Regions from separate parts of the Homo sapiens genome. Here region 2 is linked to region 1. Evidence: promoter capture Hi-C in human tissues and cell types (Jung and others, 2019). All regions are on one chromosome and are shown on one strand. The core of a region is centred on a gene start or on the middle of the fragment in contact, and the rest is flanking DNA. Distances in the headings are between cores, read along the strand shown.

What was found. The method cuts DNA at HindIII sites, captures the fragments that hold promoters and counts their contacts. A contact is called where the count stands out against the background at its distance.
Region 2: a fragment that was not itself captured here is called in contact with the fragment with the promoter of BBS12 in region 1 in 1 of the 25 tissues and cell types used here (dorsolateral prefrontal cortex).

What each region holds. Positions count from the first base shown.
Region 1 is chr4:122,728,789-122,734,852 of GRCh38, reverse strand. BBS12 (Bardet-Biedl syndrome 12) reads right to left here and starts at 2,149. Exons shown (of 2, transcript NM_152618.3): 1 at 1,969-2,149. It also overlaps the pseudogene CETN4P. RefSeq lists an enhancer at 1,690-1,899 and a silencer at 2,260-2,479. The HindIII fragment of the contact is 3,301 bases long and covers 78-3,378 here.
Region 2 is chr4:124,149,637-124,155,700 of GRCh38, reverse strand. All of the region lies in intron 2 of LOC105377407 (a long non-coding RNA gene), which reads left to right. Among named protein-coding and RNA genes, the nearest start is that of LINC02516, 410 kb to the left of the region's middle. The HindIII fragment of the contact is 6,713 bases long and covers 1-6,064 here.

The sequences.
Region 1 (6,064 bases), core at 900-3,399:
TAGCTAGTTTTCAAAACTAATTACATCCTATTCAAGATCTGGGAGTTGGAATCTGAGCCTACAATTAAAAAAACATTTTAACTAGCAGTAAATATTCCAAATATAAAAGCCTAAATCATAGTGATATAAAAATAGGTTAATATACTACTCCGCCATTTAATTGTCATTAGATCAAACATGATCCAAGAGATCCTCGAAATTAGGATTGGGTTGAGTATATACTTGGTCACTATTCATTTCTGGGTCTAAGAAATCCTTTTAATATTAGTATTAAAAATGAAGTATATGGCCGGGCGCAGTTGCTCACGCCTGTAATCCCAGCACTTTGAGAGGCCGAGGCGAGCGGATCATGAAGTCAGGAGATGGAGACCATCCTGGCTAATACGGTGAAACTCCGTCTCTACTAAAAATACAAAAAAATTAGCCGGGCGCGGTGGCGGGCGCCTGTACTCCCAGCTATTCGGGAGGCTGAGGCAGAAGAACGGCGAGAACCCGGGAGGTGGAGCTTGCAGTGAGCCGGGATTGAGCCACTGCACTCCAGCCTGGGCGACAGAGCAGGACTCGGTCTCAAAAAAAAAAAAGTGTATGACCTTGAAACTGATCAAGAGCAACTTTCCAAGTGAGATAAATGACGTGAAAAATCATATATTAAAGTGACCACATTTTACTTAACTCAAAAATTATCTTGGATTTGTGCCATTTTAATTTTCACTGGGTAACTTTATATGGAAAAATCACCTGCAATATGAGGATAAACTTACCTATTTTCCAGAAGCCTAATGAGATTTTTATCAATGATTACAATACTTGCGTGTCTGTCTGGGATATAATATGAACAAGACAGGCTGATGGCTTTGGAAAATGTGCCATGTTTCTACTCAATGAAGCATGAAAAGTGATTTGACAGAGTGCTTCAAGAATGCACTTTGCACTTGTTTTCCTCTCCTGCCTTCAGGAAGATAAGTGAGACAAAAAAAAAAAAAAAAAAAAAAAGACTAAAGTTAGTATTCTTCCTGAATCCATTTTTGAAGAATCCAGTATAATTTTTAGAAAATATTTCCTCTAGAGAAGACATTGTAGGAGGCATAAAAGGGGTCCGCATGTGTGAGCAATTAAAGGTTAGAAGTTTTAAGATTCTCTCATTCCTTCATTCCCACCAGGAAGTCAGTGGTCCATCCTACCTCAGTCTTTCTCCCCTGTCCTTTAAGCTGATTCCTGGCCAAATTCAGAACGGGCAGAAGCAGTAAATCTGGCCCTCTGGACAAGAGATTGAGTTGGTTTACAAAAGTTTCACAAGTATCTAAATCTAGGCCGTTACTGAATCAACTGGATAATCAGACTACCTGTGTCTGACTCTGAAGTGCAGATCAAGTTGATATCGTTGACAACTGGCCAAATCTTAGGACTGGGCCAAGGAAATGGCTGGATGTGTGTGTGTGTGTGTGTGTGTGTGTGTGTGTGTGTGTGTGTGTGTGTTGGGGTTGGAGGGCGGGGTCCGATAGTAATTATGGGTGGGGCCAAAGTCCTACCTCGTAAACAAATGCTACACGAAACATGTAAAAACGTTTATCTATGTATGTAGTGAAGCTTTAAATACATCCCAAGACCCATGCTTATCCCAATACCCACGTCCCTCCAACGACACTGTTACCCCATGCCACTGCTATACAGAATTCTGGTGTCTACCATGCCAGAATCCCTGCCCAAAACAGGGAGGAGGTAAATGGCTGAAGGCCCAGCTCCAGGCACTGTAGAAAATGAGGAAAGTCTAGCGGCAAAAAGAAAGGGCAGTCCCCTCTTCCTCTAGTACTCCTAGCCACATGCTGGACCAATTCACCCCAGGACCTCCAGGCCCTAGATTCTCATTCTTTCCCTGGCCCGAAGAGGACAGAAAAATCAAACACACGGGCTCCCACGTCTTCAGGAAAGACTTAGCTTAGCAGTCAGCGGAAGCACCTCACTACTAACCTCGCTCCTTTCTCCTCTCCTACAGGGGGCTGGAGTTCCCGGCTTCCCACCGGCCAGACGCGATTCTGGCTGGGACAGCAACACCAAAAACGCCAGGGCTAGGGAGCCCAGTTCCCCGTCCGCAGTTTGCGCATGTGCGAAGAGGGGCTTCTGGAGGAGCCGGGGGCTTAGTTGCTAAGAGACACAGCTGGAGAGAGAAGTTCCGCTTAACGCCGGGCTGCGAAAGGCGGGGACGTCACGCTATTGGTAGGGAGTAGAGAGAAAGGGCTGGTTTAAAGGCCTTTTTTTCTGTCCATTGGATGAACTGGATGTCAATAACTCAGGCTGGGTGGGCGGGGCTGAGAGAGGTCGGTGAGAGCGGCCTTAGCAACCGCCAGTGAGCTGTGAAGACTTGGGTTGGGCGGGGCTGCGGGAGGTGACGCCGGGAGGTCCCGGCTGAGAGCGCCGGCTGCCGGCTGGGGACCTGGTGAGTGTGAAGCTGTAACCTTCTGCTGGGGCCGGGGCCGAAGTTTTTCCGCCAGAGCAAGGAAGGCTGCCCCTGGCAGCAACTGCACTCCTTCCTTACTCCTGTTGAGATTCATTTTATAGTAGGAAATAGGTACTTTAATATAGTTTATCATCAATTATTCTGGTTCTGCTAACTATTCCAGTTATATAATTTATCTTTCACCCATATGTGTGTGTATTACAGGCATCTAACTACCATACAAGTTCAGACCAATGGAAGAAAAGAGCAGCAAAAATTGAACTGAATGAATCCCAAAAGCAAGAAATTAAAGACGCCTTTAATTTATTTGATATTGATGGGTCTGGAACCATCGATGTAAAAGAAGGTTCTGAAATTATTTCTAATTCTAAATCATTTTAAAAACCATATTATTTGTGGCAATCTTTAAGGCTTTCTTTAAAAGTAGTCTTCTGAAAGCTTAATATAAAGTCTCTTCAGTGCATATGCCTGCCCTGCATTAGCAAAACGATATCTTGTTAAGCATTTTAATTGTGTTTTATAAATGAGTAGGCAAAAGCCCAGGGTGTAACAGTGATGTACATGATGGCACAGTAGGACTGAAACACAGGCCTGCTGACCTAATTTTCTGTTTATGCTCAGTCCATAATAGAAAAGAGAGAAGCTCTTAATAGGGAGTTAAAAAGCTTAGAAAGAAATCATGGCATATTATAATTCCTTTTCTTCCTATTTCAGATTGCAGTGTGGGCCTTAGGATTTGAACCAAAGAAAGAAGAAATTTAAAAAATGGTAGCTGAAGTTGATAAAGAAGGAATTGGCACCATTAGTTTTGAAGATTTTTTTTTGCCATTATGAGTATAAAAATGATATAGTTATGATTTTATTTTTCAAAGAAATACTAGCAATAACCTGCTACATTTTAGGGCTGGAGCAATCAGAAGTTTTATAGAGAAGCAATTAGAACTAGGTTTTTAAGGATGGGAGATAGGAAGAGCAAGATTAAATATGTTTTCAGGGTAGTAATGAGAAGACTATGATGTGGAGAAGAGGTTTTTGTCAGGAAATAATGAGGCTATATTGCAGGATAGAGAGAATGGGGCCAGAATTTGGAAGCCTTTAATTCAGCAACATATATTGAATGCCTATTTTTGCCAGGCACTATTCTAAGGAGCATTGAAAGATACAACCTTCCATTTTGAAGCTTACATTTTTGGTAACGGATCTGAATTATGAGGTTTAATAAGAGATGCATTCTGGACCACCCTGTGCCTTCTCCACCTTAGCAAGCTCTACCTTTAAGCACCTTGAGGGCAGGTGTGAGTACATAATTGTTAAAAGACCAATAAATAAAATCAGAACACAGCTACTTGGCACATTGCTGCTTTAGACCCCAAAGATCTAATTAAGTCCAGCTTGATAAAATAAATAAATGAAAGACTGGATAGTTGCTTCTTTTTTAAAAGAGTAAAAAAGATGAAAAAGAAGAAATATTGAAGACTTTCAAATTATTTGATGATGATGATACTGGAAGTATAATACTAACCGGTATCAAGAGGTTTGCTAAGAAACCAGGGGAAAATTTAACATGATGAACTTCAGGTAGATTTTGCTTATTTTTATAATTATAATTTATATGTAATTATAACTTATGTGATAATTTAGGATTATAATTCTAACTTTAGTTGCACTTATGCATTTAAAATAAAATTTGGTTTTGAATATGTGTTTGACTTCATTTATGTCATTTTAAATGTATTTCATATATTTACATTTTGTTTTACAGGAAATGCTTGATGAAGCTGATCATGATAGAGATGGAGAAATAAACGAGGAAGATGTTTTGAGAGTGATGAAAAAGACTACTCGTTATTAATAGCGTTGTTTTAGTCCTTGTGGAAAATTAACAAATTTGTATTTGTTATGCAGTTTTATAATTTAATATCTGAATGTATTCATTTTCAGTTTTTAGTTTATATGTACACATTGGCTTCTTGATGTCTAATCCATGTAAGAAGTTACACATCTCTACCAATATGATGTTAAATCTACAGCATCAAGAAACAAAACATAATGACTTCTTTGAGCCATTAATCCAAGAACAGTATTGATTCTAGCTGCTCTTTTGAGAACCTTAGGTCACAAAGACTTAGAATTTTAAAGTTTGATGAAGTTGGCTTCACATCCAAATGAATTTGGCAAACAAAACTTATATTTTCCTTTTGTGCAACCCAAAAAAACCTGATGAACATTTGCTTTTTAGTCAGTTACTCAAATACATAAAGTATTAAATAGAACTGTCTGGAAACATTATTTGCTAATTTTCTTCTTTTAGTTATAAAGAAAATTCAAAATAGCACTTACATCACCCATATTTCCCTGTAAGTTTGACTCTATAGTGAGCACTTAATACCTCTGTGCTAGGACAGGTGGTGTAGAGTTTTATTTTTAAAAAATTTTATTTATATATTTTTTGAGACAAAATCTCCCTCTGTCACCCAGGCTGGAGTGCAGTGGTGCGATCTCGGCTCAATGCAACCTCTGCCTCCTGGGCTCAAGAGATTCTCCTGCCTCAGCCTCCCGAGTAGCTGGGACTACAGGTACCTGCCACCATGCCTAGCTAATTTTTTGCATTTTTAGTAGAGACGGAGTTTCACTGTGTTAGCCATGATGGTCTCAATCTCCTGACCTCATGATCTGCCTACCTCAGCCTCCCAAACTGCTGGGATTACAGGGGTGAGCCACCGTGCCTGGCCGAGATTTTATGTGTTAACCTCAGTAAACATATTACAAGTTGGAAGCTGATTGTATTAGCTCCATTTTACATACAAGAAAACTAAAGTTCAGAGAAGTTTTAAAAATTCCCCAGTTGCCCATTGATAAGAAATAAAACATGGATTCCAAATCTTAAGTTCTTATTCTTCATTATGCTGCTTCCCTATGGATAAAACTTTCAAGATAACTGTGTATTTTCTAACTCATTTTCAATTCTGTGACTCTTGTGATTTCTTCCTTGTGAAAGAGCCAAACTGTTGGGAAACGGAATCTCATACATACAGTCTTTTAACTCCTACTCAGTTGTTTGAGAGTGGGCCTTGGGCCTGGAACACTTCTTTTGAAGAGACTAGGAGTCCACAGAGCCTGTGCTGAACTTACCACCCCGTATAGTAATATCTTCCTCTGTTTCAGAGTCAATGTGTAGTCCTTTGCCCTGCTTAAGTGTGTGCATCATATGGCATCTGACCAACCCCACTGCTCTGTCTCCTGTGGGGGAGGGGATGGGGGTCCTTCAGCACAAGAGGAGTGTTTGCAGGCCACCTGCCCTGTGTCAGCTGCCAAGAGGGACCCTCTGGTCATGGGAGACTGAAGTCCACTAGGGAAGCTGATCTTGCTCTGTCTCTTCTGTATGTGAGTAATGTGTGTTCCACCCAGTGTTTCACTGCATTGTTTTCCTTGGCGACTTTGAAACAAGATGCAGTGGACAGAAGTGCTCAGACTTCTGCTCCTGACAAATAGGCAACAGATGCCACTTGCTCCACACAAACACTTTCTGATAACCAAGTTGTCTTTGGAGCAAGAAAGACTCATAGAAAATTAACTATAGTGACACTACCTGGTTCATTTTTAGCACAA
Region 2 (6,064 bases), core at 1,578-4,077, 1.4 Mb before region 1:
GGAGACTGCTAATTCAGACCAAATACTCTCTTCAAGCACAACTGCATCCCTTGGTTGAGATCTACTCCATTCCCCCCATCCCCAGTCATTAATCTTTGATTTGACTAAACTAAACCAAACCAAATGACAGTAAAGAGAGATTCTATTTCTTAGATTTATAGAGGACTTTTACAAATGAATTTTATGGCAGGGTGCCAGATGGATGAATTTAGAAATAAATAAAAGACATCTAGCTACAGAGTAGATAGAATCTATACTGAGTTTGGAGATAAAACATTAAACAAAAACATTGAAATGTGATTTTCTCAAAACTGTGAAAAGATAATTCACAGGAAAATTGGGGGCATAAGAGATTATGATCAGTTTAAAAGGTCATCACATGAAACGGCCCAACTACTGAAGTTGAAGCTGTCAGTTATGTTTCAAGCAGGACACTTTGAGGTTTATTTTGATATAGTGTGGGTGAAGGGAAAATTGGGGGGGACGATTTTCATGCAGACTTCACATTAGGACTCCAGGGTCATCTTTCTGGGCCACAGTTTCCTTATCTGAATAATAAGGGTGGTAGACTTGGATCACTATTTCTTTTTTTTTTTTTTTTTTTTTTTTAATGTTTTTTTTTTTTTATTATACTCTAAGTTTTAGGGTACATGTGCACATTGTGCAGGTTAGTTACATATGTATACATGTGCCATGCTGGTGCGCTGCACCCACTAACGTGTCATCTAGCATTAGATATATCTCCCAATGCTAACCCTCCCCCCTCCCCCGACCCCACCACAGTCCCCAGAGTGTGATATTCCCCTTCCTGTGTCCATGTGATCTCATTGTTCAATTCCCACCTATGAGTGAGAATATGCGGTGTTTGGTTTTTTGTTCTTGCGATAGTTTACTGAGAATGATGGTTTCCAATTTCATCCATGTCCCTACAAAGGACATGAACTCATCATTTTTTATGGCTGCATAGTATTCCATGGTGTATATGTGCCACATTTTCTTAATCCAGTCTATCATTGTTGGACATTTGGGTTGGTTCCAAGTCTTTGCTATTGTGAATAGTGCCACAATAAACATACGTGTGCATGTGTCTTTATAGCAGCATGATTTATAGTCCTTTGGGTATATACCCAGTAATGGGATGGCTGGGTCAAATGGTATTTCTAGTTCTAGATCCCTGAGGAATCGCCACACTGACTTCCACAATGGTTGAGCTAGTTTACAGTCCCACCAACAGTGTAAAAGTGTTCCTATTTCTCCACATCCTCTCCAGCACCTGTTGTTTCCTGACTTTTTAATGATTGCCATTCTAACTGGTGTGAGATGATATCTCATAGTGGTTTTGATTTGCATTTCTCTGATGGCCAGTGATGATGAGCATTTCTTCATGTGTTTTTTGGCTGCATAAATGTCTTCTTTTGAGAAGTGTCTGTTCATGTCCTTCGCCCACTTTTTGATGGGGTTGTTTGTTTTTTTCTTGTAAATTTGTTTGAGTTCATTGTAGATTCTGGATATTAGCCCTTTGTCAGATGAGTAGGTTGCGAAAATTTTCTCCCATGTTGTAGGTTGCCTGTTCACTCTGATGGTAGTTTCTTTTGCTGTGCAGAAGCTCTTTAGGTATTTCAAAATAATAAGAGCTATCTATGACAAACCCACAGCCAATATCATACTGAATGGGCAAAAACTGGAAGCATTCCCTTTGAAAACTGGCACAAGACAGGGATGCCCTCTCTCACCGCTCCTATTCAACATAGTGTTGGAAGTTCTGGCCAGGGCAATTAGGTAGGAGAAGGAAATAAAGGGTATTCAATTAGGAAAAGAGGAAGTCAAATTGTCCCTGTTTGCAGACGACATGATTGTTTATCTAGAAAACCCCATCGTCTCAGCCCAAAATCTCCTTAAGCTGATAAGCAACTTCAGCAAAGTCTCAGGATACAAAATCAATGTACAAAAATCACAAGCATTCTTATACACCAACAACAGACAAACAGAGGGCCAAATCATGAGTGAACTCCCATTCACAATTGCTTCAAAGAGAATAAAATACCTAGGAATCCAACTTACAAGGGATGTGAAGGACCTCTTCAAGGAGAACTACAAACCACTGCTCAAGGAAATAAAAGAGGACACAAACAAATGGAAGAACATTCCATGCTCATGGGTAGGAAGAATCAATATCGTGAAAATGGCCATACTGCCCAAGGTAATTTACAGATTCAATGCCATCCCCATCAAGCTACCAATGACTTTCTTCACAGAATTGGAAAAAACTACTTTAAAGTTCATATGGAACCAAAAAAGAGCCCGCATCGCCAAGTCAATCCTAAGCCAAAAGAACAAAGCTGGAGGCATCACACTACCTGACTTCAAACTATACTACAAGGCTACAGTAACCAAAACAGCATGGTACTGGTACCAAAACAGAGATATAGATCAATGGAACAGAACAGAGCCCTCAGAAATAATGCCACATATCTACAACTATCTGATCTTTGACAAACCTGAGAAAAACAAGCAATGGGGAAAGGATTCCCTATTTAACAAATGGTGCTGGGAAAACTGGCTAGCCATATGTAGAAAGCTGAAACTGGATCCCTTCCTTACACCTTATACAAAAATCAATTCAAGATGGATTAAAGATTTAAACGTTAGACCTAAAACCATAAAAACCCTAGAAGAAAACCTAGGCATTACCATTCAGGACATAGGCGTGGGCAAGGACTTCATGTCCAAAACACCAAAAGCAATGGCAACAAAAGCCAAAATTGACAAATGGGATCTAATTAAACTAAGGAGCACTATTTCTTAATGTATGTTCCATGGAGTAGTATCCTCAGGAGAAGCTCCATGAAAGTGTTCCTAGGAAAATAGACACACACTATATTCTCTATATCTTTCTTGGAGGTTTAGTGAGCACATTAGAGTACTACAGTTTTTTTAAACTGTTTTTAGTGAAGAAACTTGTTTAATTTCTAAATCCCAACATTTCCCAAATTTTATCCCCCAAGGAAATCTCTTTATCTTCTTACAACATATATTTAGATTCTGCAGAACACTGAAAAATATAGGTTCAGTTACATCTAATATCTTTTCAAGCTTTATCATATTATAAGATCAAAAAGAAGTCTGTCAAGAAGCATTCTTATATAATCTGTTCAGAGAAAATAAATAGATCTTTCATTCTCGCCATGAGTGTGCGGTTCTTCAGCCTTGAAACTGGATATTGAGAGTGAAATGAACACACTTCGTGTCCAGTAGAATAGTACTGAAAAAGGATCACTTAAATAGTAATGCAGCTTGTGTCCAAGGGAACCCACACAAAAGGCTGTGCTTACAGATGCCAGTAATTATGCAGCCGGGAGAAAACCCTCATTCCGTGGTCGACAGCTCTTCCGGCCCTCTGCCGACTTCCCCAATGTTGCCATGCTTTCCAACTTTGTGGTTGAAAGCACTGAAGTTTTAAGAAAAACTGGACAAATTTTGCTTTTGCTAGCTTTTCTTACTGCTAACTACCATTAAGCTTAAAAAGTATATAGCACATGTAAACCCACAATGTAAGTAAGATATGAAAAGCACTTACAACTATATAAATGATACCATACATGGAGAGCCCTTCAAATAATGCTAACACACAACTAGAGCTAATAAGGTGTAATAGTATGAGGTAATGTTGCATGCTTATATATTACATGGTTTTTTATCCACCCAATGCCGTGGTATTATTATGCACATTTACACATTAGCAACTTGATCAAGACCACACTATATATGAGTGAGGAACAGACCCAGTACTGACCAAATACAAGCTTGTTATTCTGAATCACTACCCTCCTTGGAAAATCTACCTGATGAAAGCTCAGTTCCAGCTTGAAGCCTAGTGGCTCTCCCCCACCCTCTTTATATCTGGCTGCTTGAGGGCATGACAAAGGATTCTGCTCCCCTCCCATTCAGGGTCTCAGTGATCAGTTATCGTTGATTCTGTTTTCAGTTCTTCTGAGAGGAAAAAGATAGAGGTGGGGTGATTTTTTAAATTATTTCCAAAGCCTACTCTTCTTCTTTGCAGAGTCATTTTTATACACAAATAAGTTTTGAAATAAATAGAACCAAAAAAGAAAACACCACTATGCCATGTTAGCATTTTGCAGTTTATTAAACAATTAAATATCCATCTTGGTTTTTTTTTAATCCTAAAAACAGTGTAATATTTATATTAGTAGGGCAAGCATGCATATTATTCAAAATATGCAGAAATTAAAGCTAAAGAGACATCTAATAGTGCACAAATTACATTTACAAAATGGGGACATAACCTAGACTACTATGTGTCATGAAAATTAGTGGGGATCTGCCATACAAATAGGTTTCTTTTTAGAAATTTTAAGAACTGAGAAAATCTGTTTTGAATAAGTCTTTCATTTCCCCATTCATTCTTTTAAAAATGTAGACTTCCAAGGAAATTCCAAGGCAGTTGGTCAGAATTCAATGTCTTACAAGTTGGCCATTTCCACCATCGTTGTTTTCTGAATGAATGAATCTTTTACTAATATAATAGGATGCTGAGTCCTCTGAATTTGGAAACTAAGGCCATGAACTGGAGACAACATTTTCTAATTATTCTACAATCTACAGAAAGCCACAAATAACTTCCTCCTTTACGGCCACCAGCCAGCATATCAACCTCCATTCTCCTTTCTCCATTTATATGACCATCATCAGTAAGAAGCCTTGAAAGAATGATTCAGCCTGTGGGGAAGATTGCAAATCCAAGCCGAGAGAGTACTTCACAAGAATCACTTGTAATCTTCCCTACACCTCTGAGAAGGGGAATAAAAGATTGGACTGATTTCAGGGTGGAGAGAGCTGGCCACTTCAGAGCTGGCCAGCAATAGGGGAAGGGAAAGAATGTAGTCAGTTGCTCAGTGACTAACTTTAGATTATGGAATACTTACAACTTTTTGTTTCCAGTAATGGAGAATTATATATCAAATATAATATTAATATCAAATATAATACTGAAGTTATAAATTAGAATAGACTCTTTTATTCTTTATATTTAATTTATTTTTCAATGGACAAAAATTGCATATATTTATCAAGTACAACATGATTTTTAAAATTTGTGTACATTGTGAAATGGCTCAATTAAAGATAATTAGCATGTTCACTAACTCATATATTTATCATTTTTTGTGGTGACAATACTTACAATCTACATTCTTAGTTATTTTCAACAACAAAATACATTATCTGTGGTCACCATGTTATACAACAAATCTCTTGAACTCATTCCTCCCATATAACTGAAACATTGTATCTTTTAACTAAAATTGTGATTACTAAAATTGCCTAAGAAGTTATCAAATCGTCCCAAAATGTTTTCCAACAGAGAAGGGAGATTTTGTTATAGCACCTCTGAAGGTGGTAAATGGTTAAAGCATAAAATAATCTTACGTTTATTGAGTCTCCTCAGTAAACAATGATACCACTTAAGGATTAATGCCCCTTCTTAAAGGGTCAATTTCTCTTCCCTGTATTTATCACAGTGAGAGCCCTTTTTTCCCCCCTGGAAATTCATTATGCTTTGTTTCTTTCACTACCAAAATGAGAAAGTAAACATATCAGAAATTGACATTTTTTACAATACTCACTAATTTCTATGTGTTTCTGTAAATTTGGATTGAAAGTATTCAAAATATTGAATCAACATAACTTCAGTGATCAAATTCTAAGCAGAGAGTCATTAAGAAGGGTGATTTTTAACTTCTTCATTAAAGCTAATTGTGGAACTGGGTGGAGTAATTTTCTAAACCAAAGGAGTGACAGCTAAAACCAATGCACACCAGGGAAAAAGAGCAGGTGAGGTGAAACACATGTGCAATACATATTTAAACATTTAGATGCCTAGAAAATCTGAGTTGGGTTAGTCCTTGCCAAATCTGGTTCAATTGCAATTAAGATTGAAACTTGTTATTGGGTAGATTTGGGGTCTGTTTTGGGCTGAATTGTGTTCCTTCTCCAAATTCCTATGTTCTAGTCCTGACCTCCAGTGCCCAAGACTAATGTGACT